Linked DNA regions of Homo sapiens: all the other regions are linked to region 2. The links are contacts of gene promoters, found by promoter capture Hi-C in blood cells and fetal thymus (Javierre and others, 2016). All regions are on one chromosome and are shown on one strand. Each heading gives the region's core, a stretch centred on a gene start or on the middle of the fragment in contact. The rest is flanking DNA. Distances are from core to core; before and after follow the strand shown. Region 1 has its middle 37 kb from the start of RFPL4B. Region 2 holds the start of MARCKS (myristoylated alanine rich protein kinase C substrate). Region 3 overlaps LAMA4 (laminin subunit alpha 4). Region 4 holds the start of LAMA4 (laminin subunit alpha 4). Region 5 overlaps LAMA4 (laminin subunit alpha 4). Region 6 overlaps LAMA4 (laminin subunit alpha 4). Region 7 holds the start of LAMA4-AS1 (LAMA4 antisense RNA 1).

What was found. Contacts are between HindIII fragments. The CHiCAGO score rates a contact against its expected background, and 5 or more counts as called.
Region 1: a fragment that was not itself captured here is called in contact with the fragment with the promoter of MARCKS in region 2 in 2 of 17 cell types (total CD4 T cells and total CD8 T cells); the score reaches 5.8 in total CD4 T cells.
Region 3: a contact is called between a fragment that was not itself captured here and the fragment with the promoter of MARCKS in region 2, in 2 of 17 cell types (non-activated CD4 T cells and naive CD8 T cells). The highest score is 6.8, in non-activated CD4 T cells.
Region 4: the fragment with the promoter of LAMA4 here is called in contact with the fragment with the promoter of MARCKS in region 2 in 1 of 17 cell types (naive CD4 T cells); the score reaches 7.6 in naive CD4 T cells.
Region 5: a fragment that was not itself captured here is called in contact with the fragment with the promoter of MARCKS in region 2 in 1 of 17 cell types (non-activated CD4 T cells); the score reaches 6.3 in non-activated CD4 T cells.
Region 6: a fragment that was not itself captured here is called in contact with the fragment with the promoter of MARCKS in region 2 in 2 of 17 cell types (non-activated CD4 T cells and naive CD8 T cells); the score reaches 6.3 in non-activated CD4 T cells.
Region 7: a fragment that was not itself captured here is called in contact with the fragment with the promoter of MARCKS in region 2 in 2 of 17 cell types (naive CD8 T cells and non-activated CD4 T cells); the score reaches 6.9 in naive CD8 T cells.

What each region holds. Positions count from the first base shown.
Region 1 is chr6:112,308,687-112,312,765 of GRCh38, reverse strand. No RefSeq gene overlaps it. Among named protein-coding and RNA genes, the nearest start is that of RFPL4B, 37 kb to the left of the region's middle. The HindIII fragment of the contact is 1,172 bases long and covers 1,735-2,906 here.
Region 2 is chr6:113,855,713-113,859,602 of GRCh38, reverse strand. MARCKS (myristoylated alanine rich protein kinase C substrate) reads right to left here and starts at 2,258. Exons shown (of 2, transcript NM_002356.7): 1 at 1,756-2,258. The coding sequence starts at 1,857. RefSeq lists enhancers at 2,177-2,226, 2,014-2,557, 2,558-3,103, 3,374-3,423, 3,444-3,503 and 1 more and a silencer at 382-711. The HindIII fragment of the contact is 4,373 bases long and covers 1-3,389 here.
Region 3 is chr6:112,197,314-112,201,131 of GRCh38, reverse strand. All of the region lies in intron 5 of LAMA4 (laminin subunit alpha 4), which reads left to right. Among named protein-coding and RNA genes, the nearest start is that of LAMA4-AS1, 37 kb to the left of the region's middle. RefSeq lists enhancers at 1,403-1,905, 1,906-2,409. The HindIII fragment of the contact is 4,372 bases long and covers 1-3,818 here.
Region 4 is chr6:112,252,880-112,256,498 of GRCh38, reverse strand. It overlaps LAMA4 (laminin subunit alpha 4), which reads left to right and starts at 1,932. Exons shown (of 39, transcript NM_001105206.3): 1 at 1,932-2,040; 2 at 2,208-2,543. The coding sequence starts at 2,349. All of the region lies in intron 2 of LAMA4-AS1 (LAMA4 antisense RNA 1), which reads right to left. The HindIII fragment of the contact is 4,256 bases long and covers 1,058-3,619 here.
Region 5 is chr6:112,164,658-112,168,315 of GRCh38, reverse strand. It overlaps LAMA4 (laminin subunit alpha 4), which reads left to right. Exons shown (of 39, transcript NM_001105206.3): 13 at 3,040-3,156. Among named protein-coding and RNA genes, the nearest start is that of LAMA4-AS1, 70 kb to the left of the region's middle. The HindIII fragment of the contact is 481 bases long and covers 1,680-2,160 here.
Region 6 is chr6:112,215,115-112,218,821 of GRCh38, reverse strand. It overlaps LAMA4 (laminin subunit alpha 4), which reads left to right. Exons shown (of 39, transcript NM_001105206.3): 3 at 2,353-2,454. Among named protein-coding and RNA genes, the nearest start is that of LAMA4-AS1, 20 kb to the left of the region's middle. RefSeq lists an enhancer at 3,700-3,707. The HindIII fragment of the contact is 1,937 bases long and covers 1,012-2,948 here.
Region 7 is chr6:112,234,663-112,238,357 of GRCh38, reverse strand. The region is part of intron 2 of LAMA4 (laminin subunit alpha 4); the gene reads left to right. LAMA4-AS1 (LAMA4 antisense RNA 1) reads right to left here and starts at 1,762. Exons shown (of 3, transcript NR_121193.1): 1 at 1,720-1,762; 2 at 1,442-1,579. The HindIII fragment of the contact is 159 bases long and covers 1,757-1,915 here.

The DNA.
Region 1 (4,079 bases), core at 1,071-3,570, 1.5 Mb after region 2:
TTTCCTGCCTAGTCTCCAAGACAACACAGCTTAAGAGGTTACTAATTTAGACATTATAACTAGGATTGTGACAATAGATGAGTCCACAGATGCAACAAATGTAAAAATAACAACAATGACAACAACAAAATTAGAGGTCCTAGAAGTAAGATTCAAGGAGCATTCACAGTTAGTGGATGAGAGAATGTAACAAGGGCAATTAAGGAGCAGGGGAGAGTCAGTTTCCTCTGACTCTCCGAAAACTGTACAATTACCTTCTAAAGCATCAGGTTTAAACCTCCATATTCACTGTTAAGGGGGTGAACAGTAAAATTAATCGAGAAAGCCGAGTTATTCTGCCAAGGAGACCCATTTGAAAGTGAAATAGAGGTCAAAACCCTACTCTAACATGGAAATTGGAAACCGCCAGATTTTTCAATGCTCTGATATAGTTCAAAAAGGGCAGAATTGATGGATTATTAACTATGCCAACTGGCATCGTGGAATTTATGTTTTCTTTGTTATGTAAAATGTACAATCATAACAGAAACATCAAAAACCTGAGAAGGTTCAAGGAAGGGCATAAAACAAATGTAATTCAAATTTTACTGTAATAAATAAAACTAACAGCAGAGGGCTCCCCTCAACGCCTGGCAAATTCTCAAAGCAGAGAAACTACAAATGGGGCACGTTTCTGGTAACCTCTGGTTCCATTCGAAATTTTCTATACATAAGAGAAAAAAAAAACAACTATCCATTAGTAAATAAATTACAAATACAATATTTAGACCTGCAGGTGCTAAAATTCCTTTTTCTCTTTAATTTTGTTTTCCTCACTGTGCTTTTTGCTAATCAGAAACTATTGAAGTTATTAATGCAATAATTCAGAAGGTTCTGGATGTAAAATGCCCAAAGACAGTAGAGGGATTTCTATAGCCTCTCTAAAGTATTTCAGATTATCCACCTGATTACATAAACAACATTTCCAGAAAATTGCCATTTTTTTAACCTATAATCCTGGTATCCAAATGTAGACATTACAAACGCAAGGGAGCTGTACTCAACAGCTAGGAATCTTTAATAATTTGAGGCCTTGAGGAGAACTGACATCTGGTGAAACACCAAAATGGTTTCAAAATAAATCAAAATACTATTTATACTTTTAAAAGATATTTTGAAAGTATTTTGAGTTATTTACAGAAAACAGTACTCTATATAGTAGACTCTGTGTAGGTCATCCATGTTTTCAACCAGCTATTTTTTTATTTATTATGGAAATATGAGTTAAAGTAGCCTTTGCCTCAAAGTGTTGTCATTCATTTTGCACTTTGTCCATAGAAAATGCAATGATTTTTTTCAAAGGCCAGTTTTGTTGTAGGTCAATCAAGCACTCATTTGAATGCTGATTTATTTTTATGGAGATGCATATTTTTGATGGCTTCTTTGGATTCATCACAAGGTATATCACTAACTACACTAGGAGTCAGCAAATTATAACATAGTGGGGGCCAAACCCAGCCACTGCCTGTTTTTGTACGGCCTGAAAGCTGAGAATTATTTTTACATTTTTAAATGACTGCAAAAATCAAAAGAATTCTAACATTTTATAACACATAAAATTATATAAAATTCCAAGTTCAGTATTCATAAAGTTTCAAATTTCATCAATAAAAATTTTGTGGAAATCTGTTTTCTTCTCCTATTATGTAAGTACTTACATGATACTCTCAATTTTGCCTCTTGGCCCACAAAGCTTAATTTTTTTTTTTTCCATTTGACTTAATACAGAAAAAGTTTGCCAAACTCCGAACTATGCAAAATGCCAAAACCATTATTCAATGCTCCTTGGGTTATTTAAAATAATGCAAGATTTGCCCCTTTAACACTATAACCTAATCATCTGCAGCACTGGTTCCCAAAATAATCTGTACTTTGGAATTACTGGGTAGCTTCAAAAATTATTGATGTTTGTGTCCTTGCCTGAGATTGTGACTTAATTGGCCTGGGGAATAACCTGAACTTTTAAAAGATCCCCAAGTGATTCTACTGTGAAGTTTGGAAACCACTGATTTAGTGCTTTGGCAAGTTCAATCCTCCCAGCTTTATCTGGGCGCTCCCTTCTACTGGCAGCCCTTTTTGCTCTTCCTCCAGCACATGGCCCTCTGCAGCTAGCCCCAATTCCCCCAGATCACTTAGGCCTTTCATTCCCACCACCAGAGCTAAGTGACCTTCTCACCAACTCCACTGAGAAGATCAAGGCCAACCCATCCCCAAGTTTTCTTGTTTTACTTCCTGAATGAAATTCTTCCCTCAAGTCCATTCTCTCCTCTCCAGTCCTTCTAGAGGGAATACACCATAGTGGCTAAAAAGGAGTCTTCAATCAGGCAGACATGAATTTAAATCCCTATTCCCATAATCCCAGCACTTCGAGAGGTCAAGGCAGATGAATTGCTTGAACCCAGGAGTTCAAGACCATCCTGGGCAACACGGGGAGACCCCATCTTTACAAAAAATTAAAAATAAAAAAATTAGCCAGGCATGGTGGCATGGTGGTGCCCACTCATAGTCCCAATTACTCAGGAGGGCAGATAGCTTGAGCCCAGGATCATACCACTGTATTGCAGCCTGGGTAAGAGAGCAAGAACTTGTCTCTAAAAAATTGCAATAATAACAATAATAATAATAATAACCCTATAGGGATTTTTGTGAAAATTAAATGCTACTCACAGTGTATTAAATTAAATGTTACTTACTGCTACTTACAGTGTTGTCCTTGGACTAACATCTTCAGCATCACCTGGGCACTTGCTAGAAATTCAGAATCTCAGGTCTCACTCAGACCTTCTGAATCAGAATCTTCATTTTAATGAGATCCAATAGTGATTTGTGTGCACATGAAGGTTTGAGATTCGTGGTGCTAGGAAGCTTTTTATTTCTCTTCACAGTCCACATCCAGGCTGTTTCATCCTAGCCCTTCGACAGTTCCCAATACACATGATATTGATGATGCCCTAGAGTGTGGCTTTTACGTAGAAAAGGAGATTTGCTTGAGTTTAAAAAAAAATTAATGTCAGCTATGTATAGGACAACTTGAAATGAGAAGAGACTGGGGTGGGATCGAGGTGGTTAGGAAATACAGTGTCACCTTCGTGCAACTTAGGAAAAGACACTCCCTCTGAGCCTACAGGACCCCATGCACACCTGGTGAACTAAGACAGCCCTTGGGCAATTGAGAAAATGGTGCCCCTCTGGGTTGACACCACCCTGTTTCAGAGCAGGTGGCTTGCCAAATGCAGCAGGGCCTCAGCCAGTTGTCCTCAGGCAGTGTGTGGCAACCATGCAGAAGGAGGATTGGATGGGATCCTGAACTAGGGCGTGGAAGATTGGAATGAAAAGCAAGGATGGATTCTAGAAAATGCTGAAATGGTGGAGGGCAATGGGGGAAAGACAGGGAGGAATGTGGACCTGGGGTTATTAAGGAAGACTTCTGGGAAGAGGCAAGATTTGACACAAATTCCAAGAGTTTGTAAAATTGAGGTGTAGGATCAAATATTCAAGATGCTATGAACAGGATGAGGTTATGAGAGTGAAGACATTTAGAGAACGTCAGCGGTAAAGCACCATATGGCAGAAAGAACAGTGGACTATAATCAGGGAGGTGGTATTAAAGAGTCTCAATTCATTCAGCTATAAATACAAATTTTATTTTCTTCCAATAACTGTCCCCAATAATCCCAGATCAAATCCTCCCTAACAACACCTGAGCCCTATTCCATGTTTTCTTAGTCTCTTTGTTTCATTTAGATTGCATGTTGTATCTCATTCAAAACTTCCTTTCCCTTTCCCTAGCCAGGGGTGTAGTCTTTATCACATGCTTTCCCTTTCCTCCCTCTTCCCTGAGCTATTCCTTGAGTATTGGGGCAGGACAGTGAGGTTGCAGACCTCTCCTGCACAGCCCCCTCTGCTTGTCTGTGGCTCCACCATGCTTCACCTTCTCCAACATGCTCCCTCCATGAAGCAGCTCTTGACACTGGAAGCTCCTTGAGAAATTTGGCCACATCTCTGGCTGACCCCAGCTGACATTATTGCATCACATTTCT
Region 2 (3,890 bases), core at 1,009-3,508:
CCCCGCTTCCCCCTAAGGCCCCTGTGGCCATCGAGACCCCACCCCCGCCGTTGTGGGGAGGGAGGCGCGGGTGGATGCCCAGAAGAGAGCCCCACGAACGAGGAAATGGGCACCGCTGCCTGGAGACCCCCCGAAAACACAACTGTAGCCCCCAAGTACGGCAATGGCCTCCCAGCCATTCAGCAAGTGCCCTAAAGACGAAGTCCGAAACGTAGCAAGCAAAGGCTAACCATGCCAGCCCTCGCTTTATCGGGGGCTTGGGGGAAAAAAGGTGCCAGGGACTAGTTGACACAGCAAACGCCCTTTGGAAGAAGGCACAGAGCCAGAGCTGGTGGTTCGCGCCTACGTTTCACATCCCTCTTTCGCCCTAAATACATAAAGGCCTCTTCAAAATACCAGGAATTCCCAGGGGGATCACAGCACTCGAGCCAGGAGCGCCCGCGCGGGGCCCTCCGAGCTCCTGCGCCCACCCAGGCCTTTGGCACCGGCAGGGGGCGCTGTGCCTCCACCGCGCCGCGTTGGGCGCAGGCAGGCGAGGAGGGGCGGAGTCGCCGGGCCACCCCGCCCTGCCCAGCCGGGCCCTGCCCGCAGGCCGAGGCGCCCCCGAGCCCGGATCGCGCAGCCCAACAGTCCGCAAACAAAGCTCAGGTGGTTTCCTGGCCTGCCGGTCGGGCTGAAACCAACAAGGCAGGGGGAAACCCATTATTTCTGAGGTCTCGCCTCTGCTTCCACGCCCACCTTCCCCTGCGATTCTGCGAAGCCTGGGCGCGCCTCGGCGGCTCATTTTGCATTTTTAACGGGTTTAAAGCCTCTTGGCAGACCTCGCTTTCCCCAGTAGGTTAGAGCAGGCGAAGCGACACGATCTCTTCTCTAGGAAAAGAGGCGTGGTGGGTGCCCAGTGTTTGCGAAGCAGCCACCCATGGCCGACCTCTCGGGTCCACCCAATCGTGGCTATCTGCCTGGGTCCGGGCAGCGCCGGGCGGCCCCTCGCGGGTGGTCGAGGCGCCACGCACAAGAACAATCCCGACCGAAAGGCACGAACCGCCTCTTTTTGACCATCTGGAAAGGTTCTTAAAGGACCCACCGAGTGTTCCCACCCCACAGATACCATTTAAAAATCAAATGGATGTGTAATTCCACAGACAGCTACGAATAAAGATTTAGGACAGTGGGAAAGCCTCATCAAAAGGTACCGAAGCCCTCTGTCTGGCCCCAGCCAGCCACCTTTCCAAGAACCCAGGGCACGCCGCCGCGGCATACAATAAGACAGCCTTTCCCTCCTCGCCTTTCTCCACCACCATCCCCATTGCGCCCCCCTTTCCCGACTCCCCCCCCCGCCACACACAATCACACCACCAGTTCAGAAATCTCGAAGACAATCCAGCTTCGACAACAAACCCGAGAGACACCCAAACACCATTGTGCCCCCAAACACAAATGAAACCTGGCTGGGGGCGGGGGAAGGAGGGCACCTAGCTAGTCACGTTCTGCCAATCTCCAAACCACGCCATTTTAGACGATTTATCACTCCTTTCCTCCCGTCTACTCAAGAATTCTCCAGGATTCTAAGGAACCACTCCTTTGGTGTGGGGGGACCCCGGCTATGAAAAATCCACAATTTAGGCTATCCATTTCCATTCAACTTTCAGACTAGAATCCAGCCACACTCCTCTCCACGAATGAGCCTTGGGAGCCACCAGGAGGGAAGGAGAGAAAGACACGAAATAAATGACCACAACCACAGGTAGAATTTACCTGTCCGTTCGCTTTGGAAGGCGACGAGGCCACAGCCGCCTCCCCAGGCCTCTCCGCGGCGGCTTCTCCCTTCGCTGCGGTCTTGGAGAACTGGGCACCCATGCTGGCTTCTTCAACAAAGAAACTCAACAGATCCAAGAGGGGAAACAAAGAGCCTCGGGTTGGTGTAACGACGGGGCGAGCAGCAGCAGCAGCGGCGGCGGCAACAGCGGCAGCGGCACACACACCGGAGGGAGGGGGGTGGGGGTGGTGGAGAGGACAGAACAGAACCGATTAAATACACTCCGGATAAAAAAATTTTAGTCGAAGAGATCAAAAAGCAGCAGCACAGGAGGGAGGGAAAAAGGGTGGAAAAGTCGAGCACAAAAAAAGGAGCCCAAGTGTAGTTCGAAAAAAAAAGAAGTAATAAAAAAATCCCAGATTTGTAGCCGCACTGTAGACAAGAGGAAAATGGAGAAATCTCCCTGGTTGCTAATAAGATGCGGGGTCCAACGCCCAAGTGCACAGATGAATGGGCTCGCGGGCGCTGACGCGGCCCCCGCGCGCGTCGGCCAATCCGCGCGCCGCACACAAAGCAGGGGGCGGGGTCTGCGCGCCTGGCGAACAATGGAGCCGCGCTTTGCAAACGGTTTGAAAATCAGCCTCAGACCGAGAATTAATGTCCTCCAAATAAATAAATCAATTAAAAAATACATGGCACTCGTCTCTCTCTGCTTGAAAATAATAATGCATTTCTTGATTGGCTTGCTTTGTTTGGAATTAATTAACACGGGAGGGGGGTACTTGTGCATCGGGGCGGAGAAAGCGTTAACTTGACTCGCATTGACTCTCGTCGGTCTATATCCGTGTGTCTCTCTCTCTCCACTCGCTCCCCTCCCCCATCTTTCCGTGTGTTTATGTGTATGTGTGTGTATGCGAGTGTTAAAGACAATGGTTGCGATTTGTGTGTTTGCAGCATGTTTTCTTTCTTTTTTCCATATTGGTTTTACAGATAATGCTCAGGGTTTGTTTTTTGAACTGCTGCAATGGTTAAATCGTCCCAAATTGAAAGGTATTTAAACCACGAAGATCGAATTTCATCAAGCGAGATCGCAAGTTAGAATTAGGTCTGTAGGCCAGATGTGGAAAATGCAAAAGCGGCAAACAGCGAAGCCACACTCCCTTCCCTCTCCCACATTGGCATGAAATAAAATATTTTGAGATTGGCCTTGGGCGCTCAACAAATTCCCCCTTCTCTGGCTATTCCCAATTAGTGATTTTTTTCCCCCACAATTCAAAGTGAGAGCCATTTACAGAAGATCGAAACTCTTCGCGTTTTATCACTGTTTTAAATGACATAATTTTCCTCTATGGTGAAATGAGACACAGCCTCGAGTAGACGAATCCATATTTACAGTTGGGATGTTATTCGCGTCAATATGGATCGTTTTCAGCCTACTGCCAGAATCGAATGGACTCTTTTTGAACGTGTGTGTGAGTGCGCACGCAGGCGAATGTGCTCCTGAAAGGAAGGGAGGCAGCAGCAACGATGACATTCTAAACCGGATTGCAGTTCTAAGGAGAAATGTTCTGTATGTTGAGAGATAGCAAGATCCCTGAGCTCTCCAAGTCTAACTTGGGTTAGAGGAAAACCTTCTATAATGGTACACAGGATACCTCCATCTGTCACTGCACTCCTTGCCACCGAAGTACCAGACGCTTTTTGTGCGTGAGAGACAAGGCACTGACTTAAAGTATGAGGGGTGAGGGGAACCAAGGAAACAGCTTAATAAGCATTTTCTTCCCAAAGTTTTCACTCGTGGCAAAATCAGACCACCTTTTCTCGTTTACATTTGGTGATCTTGCAAGGAATAATCTTTCGCTTATGAAGGTGAGAAGCAGTCGAGGGAATGGTTCATTTCTCCTGGTGCTGGCTCTGAATTCTCAAACAGTTTTATTTTCTGCTCATTGTAGGGAAATAGGTCACACTCTGAGTGAAAAAGACGGTTGGTTCAAGCCAGTAACTCTTTGTTCAAGCGTTGCTTTAAAAATCACCAAGCTGAACATTGTTACGTGAAGCTTCGTCTTCTCACTGTCCAGTTCCTTCAGATGCATTATTCGACCATGGTCATATTCCCCAGAGCTGATGTAAAGAC
Region 3 (3,818 bases), core at 507-3,006, 1.7 Mb after region 2:
TACTAAAAAGTAAACAAATTCCACAGGAGTTTAGGTTTTCTGGATCTCTGGCTGGTATTTACATATGACACTCTTTTCTTTTTTTCCTTTTTTTTTTTCAATTATATTTTAAGTTCTGGGATACATGTGCAGAACGTGCAGGTTTCTTACATAGGTATACACGTGCCATGGTGGTTTGCTGCACCCATCAACCCGTCATCCACATTAGGTATTTCTCCTAATGCTATCCCTCCCCTTGCCCCCCACCCACTGACAGGCCCCGGTATGTGATGTTCCCCTCCCTGTGCCCATGTGTTCTCATTGTTCAACTCCCACTTATGAGTGAGAACATGTGGTGTTTGGTTTTCTGTTCCTGTGTTAGTTTGTTAAGAATGACGGTTTCCAGCTTCATCCATGTCCCTGCAAAGGACATAAACTCATCCTTTTTTATGACTGCATAGTATTCCATGGTGTATATGTGCCACATTTTCTTTATCCAGTCTATCATTGATGGGCATTTGGGTTGGTTCCAAGTCTTTGCTATTGTGAATAGTGCTGCAATAAACATATGTGTGCATGTGTCTTTATAGTAGAATGATTTATAATCCTTTGGGTATATACCCAGTAATGGGATTGCTGGGTCAAATGGTAATTCTGGTTCTAGATCCTTGAGGAATCACCACACTGTCTTCCACAATGGTTGAATTAATTTACACTTCCACCAACAGTGTAAAAGCATTCCTATTTCTCCACATCCTCTCCAGCATCTGTTGTTACCTGACTTTTTAATGATTGCCATTCTAACTGGTGTGAGATGGTATCTCATTGTGGTTTTGATTTGCATTTCTCTAATGACCAGTGATGATGAGCTTTTTTTCATATGTTTGTTGGCCACATAAATGTCTTCTTTTGAAAAGCACATGACACTCTTTTCTCTCTTTTTCTAAACTGCTCTGGGCTTTGCTCATGTAAGAAAGGCCTTCTCCACAGAGCACGAGAGGCTTTCCACTGAATGACTCGGTAAGATATTTCCCATTCCCTCCACCTGCCAGCTGCTCGCAGTGTTGTAAGATAAAATGGCTTTTGCTCAAAGAGTCTCTCAGACAGGTTTTCTTGTTTTTAACAGAAATGCCATTAGCATTGGCCTCACCATTGTGTTTAGGCAGCTAAACGATATGTAGTGCCCTAGAGACAGGGAAGGAAGAGCCAAGCGGAAATAGTCAAGCACCCAGTCACTCATCTGCAGGCCCTCAACAGCACAGATGGGCTCACAAACTCAACCTGGGGCTTAAAATGTAAACTTTAAATTATAAGCAATCTCACTTCCAAAGAAAACACCCTCTATCTCTCAAAAAGTGGGTCTGAAACTCAAAAAAAAAAAAGCCACAGTATCTGTGATACAGAGAAAAATCTTTGCACTTGGAAGGCATTGTTATTATGATTATTAAATATGCAAAATGTGGATAATTATTTCACTAAAGGATTGTGGATTTTTTTGAATTTATTTATTTATTGCCATAAGAGGGAAAGCGAGCTTAGGGTCCACATGAATTTCATCTATTAGGAGGGACTGACAGAGATGATCGATTACATTGGGTTGATTGAAATTTGTGACACACTTATCCTATATTTCCTTACTTGGAGACACAGGAATAGGAGGCACCTGATTTACTCATTTTCTGGCTCACTGGAGGTCTGTGGCGGTTGTTAATCAGCCAGGATGGAGTTTTTTCTCCTCAGTGTCTGAGGTTAAATTCAATTTAGTTTGATAATGACCAAGCAGTATTGCTAATGGGTGTTCAATGGCCCCCACGGGGAGAGTTAATGGCCTTAGATAGAGCCCTGCTGACCAAATGCAAAGCTCGCAGAAGTGAAATCACCTGGACCCTAAGGGCACAGTCCTGTAAAATCACACAGGGGTGCAGAGAAGGGTTCTGTCATCCCAAACCATCAGCAGGACTGCACGCCCACCTCTGACAAGGAATTACAGATGATAAATGCCTCAGCCCACATAGGATGCTCATGAGCTCTGCCATTACCCAGTAAGGCTGGGTCAGATCTGCTGCTGGAGTGGAAGGCTCCAGACAAGAGCACTGGTTTGGAAAGTGAAAGTAGAGTGTTGAAAAGAAGAGATTTGAGCATTAGCCTGGGTGAGTGTGAATCTCAGCTCCACCACTTTGTGACCCACCCGGGCAAGTTCTTTGACCTCTCCAAGTGGCAATTTCCACTTGTACAGAATGGAGAAAATAAAGTTACCTGTCTCATAAAACTGTTATGAGATAATACTGCAAAGTTTTGAGTGTGGGACCTGGCACTGAGTAAATGCTCAATAAGAATTAACAGGTGACAGTATGAGTCATGGTGGTCATTGTCCAACTTCTGCCACTGCCGATTGTGTTCCTGGGACACGTTGGCTCATTTCCCTGAGTCTCGGTTTCCTTAGCTAGAAATTACAGCTCTGAGCTAAATAGTGCCACTGATTAATTATCACTTATGTCCTTGTTGCTTTACATTCTTCATCTGTCATCTTCACAGCCACCTTAGAGAAGGTTGTATTTTGTCATCTTGCAGATGAGGAAACTGAGCCAGAAGAGCTATGTCTTCCAAATTGCGGTGGTCTTTGCTGCTTTTGATTTGTTTGACCCTGGGGTTAAGAGGAGGGTTTCTGCTTGAACAGCCAAGCTCTTAAGTTGCCTGAGTTAACCTTCGCCTAATCTGTGCTTTCAATGTATTTGTGAACTTGAACCTCTCCAAAAGAGCTTTTCTAAATATGCAACTGATTTGTATGGATATCTGTTTTAAACAAAGGTAATAATTAGTCCAAACCAAGAACCTGCTAGGTCTTTTTGCACTTTAGAGATCATTGAGTCAAGTGGTGGTTTTAAAATCTGTGTCCAACTGTCTCCAGGAAAACTTTGGATTCCTGAGCCCTCCCCAACTCCCCTTCACCACCCACTGAAAAAGAATATCCAGGGCTGAGGCCCAGGACCTGTATTTTGACTTCCCGTCGGATTCTCATGCACCAGGACTCTCACTGCTTTGTGAACTACCGCTCTACCTTGACCTTCAATACCACACTCTCATACTAGGGAAGTATTTCTCAAACCGTGACCTAAGAACCTTGGTTGTCCTTGGAAATGAAGGTTCAGGAGTTCTCAGTGAATATTTTCCTAATTTTATGTTTAATTTTAATAATAACTTTAAGGAAAACATTCATTGAAACATGTTCTGGACTTTCTGCTGTGTCACGTTATAATAAGAGAAGATCTCCCTCAGTGCTGGGAGAAAATAACAGAGGTGACAGTCTGTCAATGACACATTACAGACAATTGGAGGTCAAGTGGCATGACATCAAGGCAAACTGTAAAACTAAAGATTCCAAAATGAAAATTGGTGAGAGACATGAGTCGTCACATGGCACATGGCTGGATTTGCATGCTGAACACAGGCAGTCTCTACCACATCATTTTGCAAGTGGACATTTGGTTATAAGACAACATCAATTATTGAATTAATGTGAATCTGAAATTGATTAGTTTCATAGTTTTATTTATGTTGTATTTGAAAATTTATTTTGGTTTTCAAGACATGTAAAAACCATAGACATAAGGAGTTTCTACCTAGCTTCATGTTTGAAATATTTAAAGATAATTTAAGCTAACACTGGAAGGGGTATTACATGAAAATGCTTTTCCTTTTAAAAGGATCCATGTTACATGCAAATTCGCGAAACACTGGTCTAAAACATAAAACATGTTTTACTTACTCTACCTCTTACACTACTGTGTAAAAAAACAGCTCAAACACGCCCACCTGCCTTGTCTTAACAATTAGGTCCA
Region 4 (3,619 bases), core at 683-3,182, 1.6 Mb after region 2:
AAGTCTATGTAAAAGAAGAGTATCATAATTTAGCTTAATAGTCCCTTGCAATACTATTTTAATATTTTAAAATCAAAATATCACTTTAAAACCTATAGGAATTATTTTTGCTTCCTTTGGCTTTGGTTCTTTTGTATCATACAATTTTATCATTTAAAATCAAAGATCTTACCATCAGATTTACCTGGGCTATAGTAGTAATTTTACCACTTACCCATGGCCAAATGTGTATGACAATCCCTACTTCATGAGATTATCATAAAGATGAAATTAAATGAGACAATTTTTTTTTTTTTTTTTTTTTTTTTTTTTGAGCTGGAGTCTTTCTCTGTCACCCAGGCTGGAGTCAGTGGTAAAATCTCTGCTCACTGCAACCTCCACCTCCCGGGTTCAAGCAATTCTCCTGCCTCAGCCTCCCGAGTAGCTGGGACTACAGGCGCCTCCCACCATGCCTGGCTAAATTTTGTATTTTTAGTAGAGACGGGGTTTCACCATGTTGGCCAGGCTGGTATCGAACTCCTGACCTCATGATCCACCCACCTTGGCCTCCCAAAGTGCTGGGATTACAGGCATGAGCCACCACGCCCAGCCCTAAATGAGACAATTTATGTGATTTTTTTGCACATGGGAGGCACTCAAAAAATAAAAGTGTCCATTTCCTTCACCTCTGAATTCATACTCTTTATTTTAAAGTTGCAGTGTCGTGTATACAGATGTAAAAGAGAGCTTTGGAATCAGTGAGGCCTGGATCCAAACCCCATCTCTGCTTTCCACCAGCTGTGCGACCTTGGGCAAATGTCCTAGTCTCTCTGAACCTCACTTTCTTCTTCTGTAAAAGGAAAATAATGGTACTACTTTGCAGGAATGCTGAGGTTTACAAATAGCATATGCCAAGTATCTGGCACATGTTAGGTGCAAAATAAATGGTTTTGCTTACACTTAGATAAAATGACTTTTGTTCTATGAAATGGAGCTAATGATTAGGTTTTATGGAAAGGCTTTATTTATTTATTTTATGATTAGGTTATACAAAAATGCTTTATTTCACCTGGAAGCTTACCTGGGTGTCATTTTATGGTTGTCTCATCTGACCATTTTTAAACCATGGTTGGATCTTGTGGAAATGTTTAGAGCTCGTTATGAAGCCAATGTAAACAAAGGTACCTATCAGCTGTTGCAGACACTATCCCATCCACAGGGGCACCCCTGACATAGCTGTAGCCCAACTTCACCCTGAAGTCTTGGAAAGGTTACATGATTCAGACAGATGTAGTAGGCATGAGATTACAGGCCAAGAGGAAGAGGCCGGGGCTGTAGGCAGTATACTTGACAGGCTCATACACTGCAAGCCTTGTTCCGGGCCCCTTACAAAGCACCTCTTTAGGATGAAAACAAGATGGTCTTTGTAAATAAAAGTTCATGCATTTGGGTAATGAAGTCATTTTCCAGCGCTGCAGTGAAAGATATTCTTCTCCCAAGCCCTCTGGGTGAGGACTGGAGGGAGGAAGAGGGGTGGCCAGTGAATCTGAAGAGAAGATATTAGCACAAAGAGTGCAACAGTCTATCCCCCAGAAAAAACCCGAGAAACCTTGCTCAAGAAAGTGGGCACCCTGACCCTCTGCCTTCAGAGATCATCTACCTTTGGTTCCTGCCCTGGAATCCCTTTTCCACCCACTTTCCTGCAAACTAGCGGGGGCCACATAAAATATCTATGTAAATATAGATAAGACATCCGGTACCTTGACTACATAAATAAGAGTGGTGAGGAAGCGTCACAAAAGCTGAATATTCTTCTGGAGCCCTTGGAGGGGCTCCAAACTGAGAGGGGAGGGAAGACCGCAGGGAAAGGCGGACCTCAGTGTCTGAAAAGCCAGCTTAGAGTGGGAGGGCCTGGGAGTAGAAGGTAAAAAGGGAGTGGTGAGAATGAATGTGAGAAGGAAGCCAGGACAGCGCAGTCCCCAGTCCCGAACGGCCAGGGAGAGGAGGTGGCCTAGCGCTGGCGGGGCTCACCCCAATCCGTCTGCCTTTTGATGCCGTACTGTAAGCTCCGTCCATCTGTAGGTTCTTGAGCCAGAACCTCTGCGGGAAGGAGAAAAAGTGAAAGAGGGAGAGGGAGAGGGAGAGAGAGGGGGAGAAGGGGAGAGAGAGAGAGGGAGAGAGAGGCTGGAACTCTCCCTTACTCTCGCACTTTCCCTTTATTTCCTAAGCTGCTGGTTGCGCAGCCACCTCGGGATACTGCACACGGAGAGGAGGGAAAATAAGCGAGGCACCGCCGCACCACGCGGGAGACCTACGGAGACCCACAGCGCCCGAGCCCTGGAAGAGCACTACTGGATGTCAGCGGAGAAATGGCTTTGAGCTCAGCCTGGCGCTCGGTTCTGCCTCTGTGGCTCCTCTGGAGCGCTGCCTGCTCCCGCGCCGCGTCCGGGGACGACAACGCTTTTCCTTTTGACATTGAAGGGAGCTCAGCGGTTGGCAGGCAAGACCCGCCTGAGACGAGCGAACCCCGCGTGGCTCTGGGACGCCTGCCGCCTGCGGCCGAGGTACAGTGTCCCTGCCATTGCCACCCTGCTGGGGCACCTGCGCCCCCGCGGGCTGTGCCACACTCGTCCTTCTCTCTCTCTCCGCCTCTTTCCTCTCCCCAGTGCCTTGAGAGTTTCACCTGGGCTAGGTCAGTTCGGAAACTTGAAATAAAGAGTTTTCCTTTGTAAGTTGCATTTGGATGTTGAGAGTTGAAAGTTGAGGCTTCGGAATGTGTCTGCTCAAAGGGGTGAGAGTGCATGTGTTGGTGCTCTGAGTTCATCCGCTAGACTCTCACCGGGGACTGCAGCAGCACATCGGTGACTTCTGCCACTTGCGTGTCCCAGTAGTCATTTTGTCAAGCCACGGCACTTAACGTGTGTGCCCTGTCACTGGCTTCCTGCTCCTCTGTGCTGTTAGGACAGTGGGAACACTACTGCAGGATCTTTTTGTCTCATATTAGACAAGAAGTCTTCTGCAGCAGGGAAGGTGAGGGGGTGAGTGAGAGTGGCTGGTCATGAAAGGAGCTGTTAGACAACTGCTGAGAGGGTATCTTAAGTAGAAACGAGCCATTGTATTCCAGAAACAAGATGTTTCCATTAAAATCAAGCCTCAGGATATGCTATTGATAATATGTTTATTCAAAGAGCTGCTGTTTGAATACCTTACAATAGCTTTTAAGTTGGAAACAAAACCAGAATGTAGAGGTCTGGTAAAGGAGAATGAATCCAGAACAAGTGATTTAAGAACCCCTGAACTGAAACAGACAACAGCATGCCCATTGCATGGGACATGCTAAGAGGGAGGAAAATAAAGTCACCTAAGTTCATGGGAAAGGAAGGAGCAATTGACCTAGCAAAACAAACACCACACTCTATAGCTATGGTTACAGCAACTGTACAACTAAAACAGTTATGTGGATTGACACCATTTCTAACATCACTGATGCATGGATTATTGCTATGAATTCTGTTAATTGTTAGTACAATTATAGTTATTAATTATTGATGATTAAAAATAAGGTGCATGAACATGGTCCTTCTTCAGAGTAAGCCCTACCCACATTGCCCCAAAAAAGAGAGTGGACAGGGTCAGAATA
Region 5 (3,658 bases), core at 671-3,170, 1.7 Mb after region 2:
TCCTCTCTACTGGTGCAGCCATTGGTTGTATCACTGGAATGATCACCAGGCTTCATCACACTAAGCATATATTCTTCTATGTTCCTGTCTAGGAGTCACTCCTTTTTTTTTTTTTTTTGAGACGGAGTCTCGCTCTGTTGCCCAGGCTGGAGTGCAGTGGCGCGATCTCAGCTCACTGCAAGCTCTGCCTCCCGGGTTCGTGCCATTCTCCTGTCTCAGCCTCCTGAGTAGCTGGGACTACAGGCACCCGCCACCACGCCCGGCTAATTTTTTGTATTTTTAGTAGAGATGGGGTTTCACCAGGATGGTCTCCATCTCCTGACCTTGTGATCTGCCTGCCTCGGCCTCCCAAAGTGCTGGGATTACAGGCGTGAGCCACCGCGCCTGGTGGAGTCACTCTTGATTGCTGAATGCATAACTCTGTGTGTGTGTGTGTGTGTGTGTGTGTGTGTGTGTGTGTGTGTGTGTGTGTGTGATGGTATGCATCTAGTCTAACCCCACTAGACCGTGAGCATCCAAGGGCAGCACTCCAGCCTTGCACAAATTGTATCTTCCTAGCACCAAACACAATAACTTGCATTTGTTACATCTATTGATGAACAGATGGATGGACAAATGCTTGGAGCACTGTCAAGTAATACAGATTTGATTTATGTACACTGGTTCTTCATGATCACAAATACTCTTATTTCATATTAACTTGGACTTCTAAATTACTAAACACTACTTTCACCATTCTTTTGCATACTTTTGCAAAATATCATGAAATTTTAATTCCTTCCAACAAAATTTAAAATCCAATGTTTTATTTATAGTCTTTCCTACGACAAATAGATTTGAATGGATCTGACCTTACTGGAATTTGACTCTGTGTTTTAGAAAACAAACTTAAGTGGGTTTGTTGTTGTTGTTTTGAGACACAGTCTTACTCTGTCACCCAGGCTGGAGTACAGTGGCACAATCTTAGCTCACCACAACCTCCACCTCCTGGGTTCAAGCAATTCTGTTGCCTCAGCCTCCCAAGTAGCTGGGATTACAGGCATGTGCCACCACACCCGGCCCAAATTTAATTGTTTTAATTTTACATTTCACTATTACACCTACAGCATGGGCTAGAAAAGAATAATCCCCAAATTTCAGTTATCATACAAAACCAAAAAAGTACCCACAGAGCTTAATCATTTTGACATGTACCAACAGTAGCCATACAACTAGCAATTACATTATTTTGTCATCTTACCTCTATCTCCAAAGGGTAACAGAATGATTAAAAACTTATCAGATGAACATGAGATTGTATAGTTTAAAAGTAAGTAAAATACTCCTTCAAAAGCACTGTTTAGGGATTACTATATACCCAAGCTTTACCTTCCCAGGACTGTTTTTTGTTGTTTTTGTTGCTGTTGCTGTTGCTGTTGTTGTTGTTGACCGTGGAACTTTTTCTATTTTTTTGCATATGTAATATGCACAGTGAAGCATGCTGAATAGTGACAATTGTGTCATTTTCATAATTATCAGTTTTCAACATTTTACTTTGTTCAAGTTGACCACTTTTCTGTGGAAATATCTTTATTTGTTTCAAAGCTAATTTTATTCATTTCTGTCTAATGCTATATACGGTAAGTGGGAGAAACTCATTAACTTGAAGCATATTGTTTTTCATCTACTGCAAATAAGCTTATATACAGTGCTATTAGCACACAGCTTTGAAGTTTGTCTCTGACTTCAGGGTGTTAGCAGTGTTCTCCCGCAGTCACCCAGAGAGAACTTACAGAAGGGGTAAAGAACACTGTAAAAGGAAAACAGTTCTGTGAGAGGTAAATAATACCAACCTTTTTTCAACTCCCTTCTTTTACATATTTTAATACACATATTTTACAGTATTGCTTTTGCTGTATAACTCCCAGTCTTTGTAAAGATAAGAATAATTGATCTCAGATAGTCACACTGTATTAGGCTTGATGGATATTCAGGGAAAATTGTTTCTTTAAAAATGTTCTTGCATTAAGAGGATGTTCAAATGTGATTCTTTTCTGTCTCTAGACCTACACCTACCCCATAACAACATATCTGGAGAAGATGGGTTCCATTCTTCCTTTTCTTTAAGCCAGAAAAGACTGCAGGGAGTAAGAAAGGACATTAAGATGAACTTAAAAAGCTTTAAAGTATTTCCTTCTCTATCTAGGCTTCTATAATTATTTCTATGATATTCTAGATTACACTATAATGTATATTTCAACTCTGACTTGTTACTATTTCTAAGGTAACTTCAACTCATTTTTCACTCAAATTGTAAAATGAGTCTTTTACTTTTCCCTCCTAAAGTTTCTTTCTATGTTTCTTTCAAACTCTAAACTCATTGGAAGCCCCATAATATTTCTTCAGAATCACAATGTCCCTGCCTCTAGAACCTAAAAGTGATGGTAGAAATTAAAGTACTCATCAAGACATGTATTAGTATTTACTTTCCCTTCTCAAAACATCTGAGCATTTACAATAAAGAGCTCTGAGAGGTATGAAGCAAGATTAAAATTTGATGCTTTAATAGTAGGGCCATTTTTAATTTTTAAAAGGACATAATAAGATTATTTTTGTATATTCTCTGTTCCTGTCCAAATGGGCTGTTTGTGTCAGGCCCAAGGCTGGCACATGATAAATACTTTTTGAATTAATTCATATTCCAATCACTGCAAATATAGAGCCTGTGTTCAATCCTTTCTCCATAGTCCTCTTTTATATTCTGGGAAAAAGAGACAAATGCCCTCTCTAAGGCGCTAGCTCTCTTTGAAATGACGGTGTTATAATAATCCTCCGTATGTCTAATCTCCCAAGATTCTTACTGTTGTTATCTCTGTATTATAAATGAGAAAGCAGCATCAAACAGGTAGCATTCCCCAAAGGCACACAGCAAGGATGGAGCTGGGATATGAACCCAGATTTGTCTGAGTCCAAAGAGAGCAAGTTGACATTTACTGCTCTCCCCAACGCTTTCCCTAAAGACATATTCACTTCACTCTCCCTTACTCTTCCTTCCCGCAGAAACAACAGGAAAGAGTGAGGGAACAAATGGAAGTGGTGAACATGTCTCTGAGCACATCTGCGGACTCTCTGACAACACCTCGTCTAACTCTTTCAGAACTTGATGATATAATAAAGGTAAGGACGCACGTGACTTGTTCAGGTTTGTATTTCCAGCAGGTTACAACAGCAGCTCAGTGTCACAGAATAATAATAAATTCATATCTAACCAGTGAGCAGGCATTATAAAGATCAGATGACTGAATGTTTTAGTTTCTTGCACTGTACGATGACCACCAGCCACATATGACTACTTAAATTTAAATTACTTAAAATTAAATAAAATTAAAATTTTAATTCTTCAGTCACATTAGCCACTTTTCAAGTCCTCAGCAGCCACATAGCTAGCAGCTACTATATTCAGTGGCACAAGCATTGTGCAGAAACAGGCATTGCGCCACTGAATATAGTGGAACTTCTTGCAGAGAGTTCTATTGAAAATGCTGCTCTCGATCCATCCTACTCACTCTTCACTCATAAAGTTGTGTTTGATAAATCTGGCATTCAAAATCAATAAAAGTCACATTTTGTAAAAGTAGAAAATTTCCAATAAAATGCAGTGAACTGAACTATCATGAAA
Region 6 (3,707 bases), core at 731-3,230, 1.6 Mb after region 2:
GGGGGCCAAATGACTCAACACAGCCCTGTTCGTACCTCCCTTTTCTTCCCATCTCCCACATTATAAGAGATCAGAGCCAAGTTATCCTTCACCCAAGGTCATAATCTCAGATTGGGGAGTGGTAAGTGGATAATGACAGGCTCTCACAGTGAACTCTCCTCCTAAACTTGGCACATCACAAAGATTTCATCTTGCATGCTGTCCAACCTAGGCACTGGCTGCTGGACTGTTGACAAAGAGTTGAGATGAAATCCACCCTTAGGAGAGAGCAGTGGATGGATTATCAGTATATTCTGTGGGCTCCCAATAGTATATATGTCTCCAGTTTGCTGTCCTTGTCCAAACCACCCAAATCACCAAGAGTTCATTGAGCAATTAATATATACAAGGCATTGTGAGAGATGCTTCCAAACCTGGCCAAATATCAGAGTCTTTGGGGAGCTTTTTAAAAATGCAGATCCTTCACAATTTTTCTGTAAATCTAAAGTTATTCTAAAACACAAAAGTTATTTTTTAAAATGCAGATCCTTTGGTTTCACTGAATCAGAAGCTCCCCAGAAGACTGTAATATGGTCATTTAGAGAGCTCAGAAACCACCATTTAAGAGGCTACTAAGATAACTAATATTAAGACCGTCACTACTCTTACCCACTACTCTTATAAAGAAAACCCTGCAGTCATGCAAAACTGCAACACATTCATGGGTCATCAGATCAATTTTATGGGTCATGACCAGGATATACTCTTAAATACAATAGAGAAGTTTTAGGTACATTATTACTTTGTGAATCTTTTCTCTGAGACACATATATATGGATATCTATATCTATCTCCATATCTACACCAATATAGATATAGATACCAATCTGTGTACTGCATCACAATGAAAACATGTATGTTTTACTTTGCGGCAAAGACTAAAAATGTGAAATTAAATGGTCTAAATTAAATGCTTCCTACTGCAATCTTAGTGTCTTCCCTCTCTTGTTTTCTAGTGGAAACTAAGAAGCTTACCATCAACCACAACTCTCCATTAAAAAATTATAAATTGATCTTCTCTTAGCCTTATTTCTCTAACTTGGAAATGTGGAATTTCCTTGCCTTTTTTTCATAGACAAATGTTGTTATTCTTTATTAAACTTCCTCCAAATGGGGTTTATTAAATTTTAGTTTTAAAGTGTGAACTGATGTGTGTGTTTTTTTTTAAATACTGTGAATGGTGTTTAGTGACTCTTTCTTTACAGAGTAAAAAGCAAGGGGAAATAGGTTTGCATAGCAATCAGAGGGACTTCAGCCAGATATAATGAAAATTTCCTGGTCGCCAGGGAAGTGCAAACTACAATGGGTCAATGGGGGTGTATGATGTGAAATCTTGGACTCTGTAAGTCTGTGGAAACAAAGCAGATTCTTATCTGTCTGGAATTCTTTAGACATAAACTTGTCTGATGGGCGGGGAGCGGATTTCCAGGCCCATAATGCCATTTCTGCCCTTCATCACTGAGACATTCCAAAGAAATATCAAATGCATATCCACAGCCTAATCACATAAACCAGGAACAATCTCATAATGTGTCTCAAATGGCACACTAATGATATCTGGGGAGGGCAGCTGATGATTGTGCAGGTCAATTGGTGCATGACAGGATAGTTTAACATCCCCAAAAGCCACTTAGCACCTCTCAATCTCATGAGCTCATCACTAGGATAAGGGAAAGTCATGTGTTCCTCGCAGCATTCTGAAGACAAATGAAATACATATATGAACAGCACCCACACAGGACTTGACAAGTGTAAGAACTCATTAACTTCCTTATCCCTCCCTTTAACATGTTAGCATCTGAAGAAACAGATGCTTTTAAGAACTGAAGTTCATGAAAGACTCAGTTGCTATCCTATAGCTAAGTTGCTCTCCTATAGCTAGTGATTGCTGAAACGAGAAGTCTTTCTTTATTTATAGGGAGCATGACCTCACCCTGACTAATACTTAATTGTGGTCTTGTTTTGTTTTGCTTATACTGGAAGAAAACATTAGCATTTTTTTCTCCCTTACTGTTACGTAATACCTTCTTATTCTTCCTTGCAATGATAAGACAGTGTTAAAGGCATTTCTGTTCTCCTGAAAAGTGAAAGGAGGGAAAAAGTTATGTAACAAAGAAGATTATATATACATCATCTATCACTGAATGGTAGTATAAATAGTTTATTTTAGTATGTTTTGTATGTATCATTTAGTATATTCATTTTAGAAATGTTTAGATTGTTTAATAATCACTTTCTCTGATTTCTTCTCAGAAAATATTGACCAAAATCAATCTTTTCAATAATCAAAATGGTTTGGTGTGTCTGTTGCAGAAATGCAATGCTGGATTCTTTCACACCCTGTCGGGAGAATGTGTGCCCTGCGACTGTAATGGCAATTCCAACGAGTGTTTGGACGGCTCAGGATACTGTGTGGTAAGTTGGGGCACCTATAACACTTCACGTACTTCACTGGGCATTTGCATCTTGGGTGAAGATAAAATATTTTTCGGATGTTTGAGCCACATAGGAGCAAACTGCTAATCAAGTGCTTTTGTTCACCCTTCAGCTTTTCCTGTGAAACAACTCATATAAACTACTTCTGATTTTAAGGGTCCACCAAGGCATATGCATGAGTGTGCACGTGCACCCGGAGGCTCCTGCCCCACCACCCTCAGCAGCTGGTTGCCTGCTGTAGACCAATGGCGGTGGGATTGAAAATGATACATAGAGGAGGAACCCATACATCCAAATTCCTCTGTAATCGTATAGTTTGCCATATGTTTGGCTTCGTTCCACATAAACCAGGAGAATGAAACAGTTGTTGCCTAGCCTATTTTAGAACCTAAAATAACCAGGTCTATAGATCAAAATTAGTTTTTAAAAAAGAAATTTAAGTTTGAACCCAATAGCTGATGAAAATGAAAGCTTTGCCCTTGTGGTCTTTGCAAGTCTGTGTTTAAGCCCCCAGGAGACTATTTTTTTCCTTAACTGAAATGAATTCTCCAATAGACTGTTCTTCATTGAAGCATGATAGAGCCTTGTGCGAAAGATTGAGAAGTCTTCCAGCAGAAAAGTACTTGCTACATATTTCCCATTTTTAATGAATGGACTGACAACTTAAGTGAAAATGGGTGTTGAAATATTTACCAGAAGTGGCTTCAGTGGAAGTCATAGAGGGCATTTATAAGAACTTATGCTCAAATAGCATGTTTTCCTTCGTGAGCTGTGTGATACAGCAGAAAAATTCTTCAAGTTCCCATCTGGCAAAAAGAGGTTTTCCAAAACTACAAGAGTATTTTTGCATAAACTATAAGAATACTTATTTAAATGCACTCAACATTTGCATAATTGTCCCTATTAGATAATTTTTATTTTAAATGGCCTCTTAGGTGTGTACATGAAAGTGATATTTTATTCACACATTAAGATGCAAATGCAAATGTTTTTATTGATCTTTAACCCTAGAAGTTGCCATTTTTCTAGGGACAGAGAATTAAGTGACAAAATACTAATGTTGCTATCTCTTTGTAGTGTTTATTTAGTCCTGATATTTGTTTTCCCTTCCCCCATCTTCTTAAATAAGCATTACAACCAGGATGTCCTCTGTCACAGTGTAGGCTTCTGCAGCTGCCAAAGTCTACTCCTTTCTAATGCTTCCATCTCCGGTTTCCTGTTATTTTAATCCC
Region 7 (3,695 bases), core at 587-3,086, 1.6 Mb after region 2:
TAGGTATCCAGGGACACTCGATTGATCAGTATCAATATCTTCACTCTCTTTTTTAGCAAAAAGGTGCACACTACCTCAGCAAGTGCCAAGTATCCTACAAAGATGAGTAAAACACAGACGAAACAAGCACACTAATAATGCAATACAACTAATTTCTTATGTTACAAAAACTCTTCAAGGATATAGAAGGAACATTCACTCCTGGTGGAACATTCCCAGGTGACTTCATGGGCAAGGTGGCATTTGAGTTGAATCTTTGAGATTGAGGAAAAGAATACAAGCTGAGGGGACAGGATGAGTAAATAAAAAGACACAGAGTTTCTTCTGGAAAGGGAAGTAGTCTCAGTTTGTTGGGCTGAACCACAGGGATCCATCAAAGACTTCATAGCAGAAGAAAGAGAAACACAGTGAGAATCATGATTTGTCAACATTAATCGGGAAACAGTCTCCTGGCTAGATTGGGCAATAGGTGGCAGAGAGCCTGGAATCAGGATAACCCATGTCGTGCATTGGTAACCATCCAGGAGGGCCTAAGGAGGCCTGGATTTGGATGCTAGCTGTGGTCTGGAAAGGAGAGAACAGATGCTGGGATCATCGCCAAGGTTCTGTCAAGATGGTTTGTCATATGTTTGAAGAGTAAGGATGAAGGAGAAGTCAAAGTTGCTGCTGATGTGTGTAGAAATGTATTAAATCATGGGAGAGAAGTCTCTGCAGAGACCTTTCAACATAAAACCTACTAAATCAGTGGCTCTCAGACTGAGGCTCCATGGAAATGCCTGAGGGTTCAAGTCCTCCGGAGCAGCGGGAGGTTGCTCCCTACCTCCTTCAATCACAGCAGCCTCTTTTTTATCTGTTTTATAGATGAATTTCACATGAAATTTTACTGGTTTTTAAAAAAGGGATTCTCTGCTCTAAAATATTTGAGAACCACTATGCTGGGGCCTCCCAAGCTGATATTCTACATCAAGACTAGTCTCCAAAATGTTACTCAAAATCTTATTCAAATCAGTGCCTCCTAGGCAGTTTCCCAGCAGTACACACGTCTGCCTTGGGCCAGTACTTGTCACTGGTTGCATTGAGCAGCTGATGCTCAGAGCACCCCTGTAATAGCTCCAAACATGAGCTAGAAATCTTTAAACAATTGGTGCTCTCCTGAGAGATATTTTTATGCTTCCTGTTCCCTGTCTGACGGTATTTTTGGCCCTTTTCAAGGAAATTAGGAAATTCCACTTTTGTCTCGGTCATTAACCTGGGAGTACTGAGGACAACAACAAAGGAGCTTCGGAGAGAGGATAGGATGGTAGTGGGTAGACCAGATAACCACTATCATTTGATCTTCATAGGAAGGACCAGATGTTCATTCAGTTTTTATTCTTCTAAACCAATTATTCCATCGCAATGAATATCATCTTATTCTGAAACATAAACCACAGTTTCTTACCTGCACCCTGAGCTAAAAAGATAGCTCTCAAGTCTTACTCTCTCCTTTCTCGATACAGTAGTTCACCCCATTTGTGGTCCAGAAGCTGTTTCCAGTGATCTCCAAAGGGGAAAAGTACTTCCATGATGAACATTATGTCTATAAAAATCAAGAAAATAAGCATCAAAAACTTTAGTTTTCCATGCGAATTAAAAAAGCAGCAACCTAAGCATTTCATAGTGTCATGAAGGCAAACTGCAGCTTGTTTTAATTTGCCTTATAACATATCTGCAGTATACCTGGGGAGAACTGATGTTCTAATGAATTAGGAAAGCTTCTTTTATCTCCTTCTACCTGTAGCTTGAAGACCTCAGCTTTTAAAAAGCTGTTGATATTGAACAACTGTTAAATTGGCAGTTATTCACAACTGCCAAATATTGGAATTTCCAATGACTACTGACTCAGGTAGAAAATAGTGTTGATACTTATTAAGCTTTCATGATTTACAAAGTGTTTTCCTATATATTTCCACCTTTAATCTTCACAACCATCTTACAAACCAGGCAGTCCGGAGGTTATTCATCTAATTTATGAAAGCATGGAAATGTTAAATGATAAGCCCAAAGTCTCCTAGCGTGGAAACTTGTTGAGACAGCAGGAAGTTTCACAGAGTTCTAGACTGTTAGAATGTGAAGAGCCTGGAAATCATCATGCTGCTAACATCATTGAAGAGGAAGAAACCAGAGCTAGAAGTTGAGTCACTTCCCCAAGTTCCCACACAGGGTTTCTAGAACTGGAACCACAACCAAGTTTCCTGGCTCTGAGGTCAGTTGTCTTTCTCTACTGCATCACAGAGCAGGGACGCCGTCACGGGGGTGTTGAGACATTAAGTGAGCTGGATCAGACAAGAATATATCCATGTTTACCTTCGCCTTATAACTTATGTAGTCATCTGTGTCCTGGAACTAAGTAATTCAATTGCTAAAACGTTGAAAGTTCTCTTCGCCTTTGGTCATTATATTTATCTCAATTTTGAATTTAATTTATAACCAAATCATGCATCCCATTTCTTTCATTTCAAGCATTTTTTGCCTTGGCCCCATATGCTATCAACCCCTTAAACCATGCTCTCAGCACCTATACTTAGAAAGTAAGCATTCAAGTGCATTAAAATTTCAGAATTTCCGGCTAGAGTTTTCTGGTGGTCACATAAAAATAAACAAAACATCCTTGATCTTAAAAGGAAGAAAGAAAGATCTATTTCAAAAATGAACAATAACATTTTTGTTTTAAAAGTTTAAGAATTAATTTTTAAAATTCCTAGACCATATCATGTCTGGTATTCCTCCTGTACACAGTGATCGGTCAGGTTTCCACATGACCTTAAGAAACTTCCCTATCATGTACCAAAACAATTGAAATGTGAGAAATTAATGAAGAAAATGAAACGTTGATAGCACCAAAGTGGTCCACTCTGGCACTTGTACCCCTCCATGACCTTGTCAACCTGATTTATAACAATTCTGAGTTTCAGCAGCTCCATTTTTATATGTAGAATTTTTCTACTGTTAATGTCACAGGGAAATCACCCTAGTCTTCTAACAGCAAAAAAATATATATAATACCTGTTTCTCGAGAAAATCTGCCAATTCCCAGCAGAACTACAGAACTTTATGATATAATCCAGGGACTTTGCTATGAACAGCATCTGCTGAGATATGCCCTGAACCTAATAGAGGACAAGGAAAAAGGGGTATTTCAGGGGTTTGGGGCAGCCCCACATGGTCTGCAAAATAGGAAGGTTTTTGGGAGGCAGGACAGTTCTAACCCTGCCCATTCCATGGTCCATTTTCAAAATGGTGGGCACTTTCACGCCTCATTCTCACCCTAGTCTTTGATGTCAGGAGGATCCTCAGTATGGTGAGAATAATACTGTATTTAAGATGAAGCTGATGTCTGTGTAAGGTCAGAGTAATCATCTTTATGAGTATTATCCGAAGATATTTGGATATCCGAAGATATTTGGATATCCAAAGATATTTGTAAGGTTCTCCAAACTTCTAGGTTTTTATTAAAGGGCTGGGCTCTTCCTGGTCTCAAACAGTATTTGTGGTTACTTTGGCAGATGAAGCACATTTTTCCTGTGCCCTATGTTTTTGGACATGCAGTATATCAAAGTGTTCGGTGGAAATAAGCATTCTGTTATTTTTTTCTTAGCACATTTTTTGTCTTCTCTTCCATTCAGTTATGTTGAAAGCTACGTGTTGGATCTGTT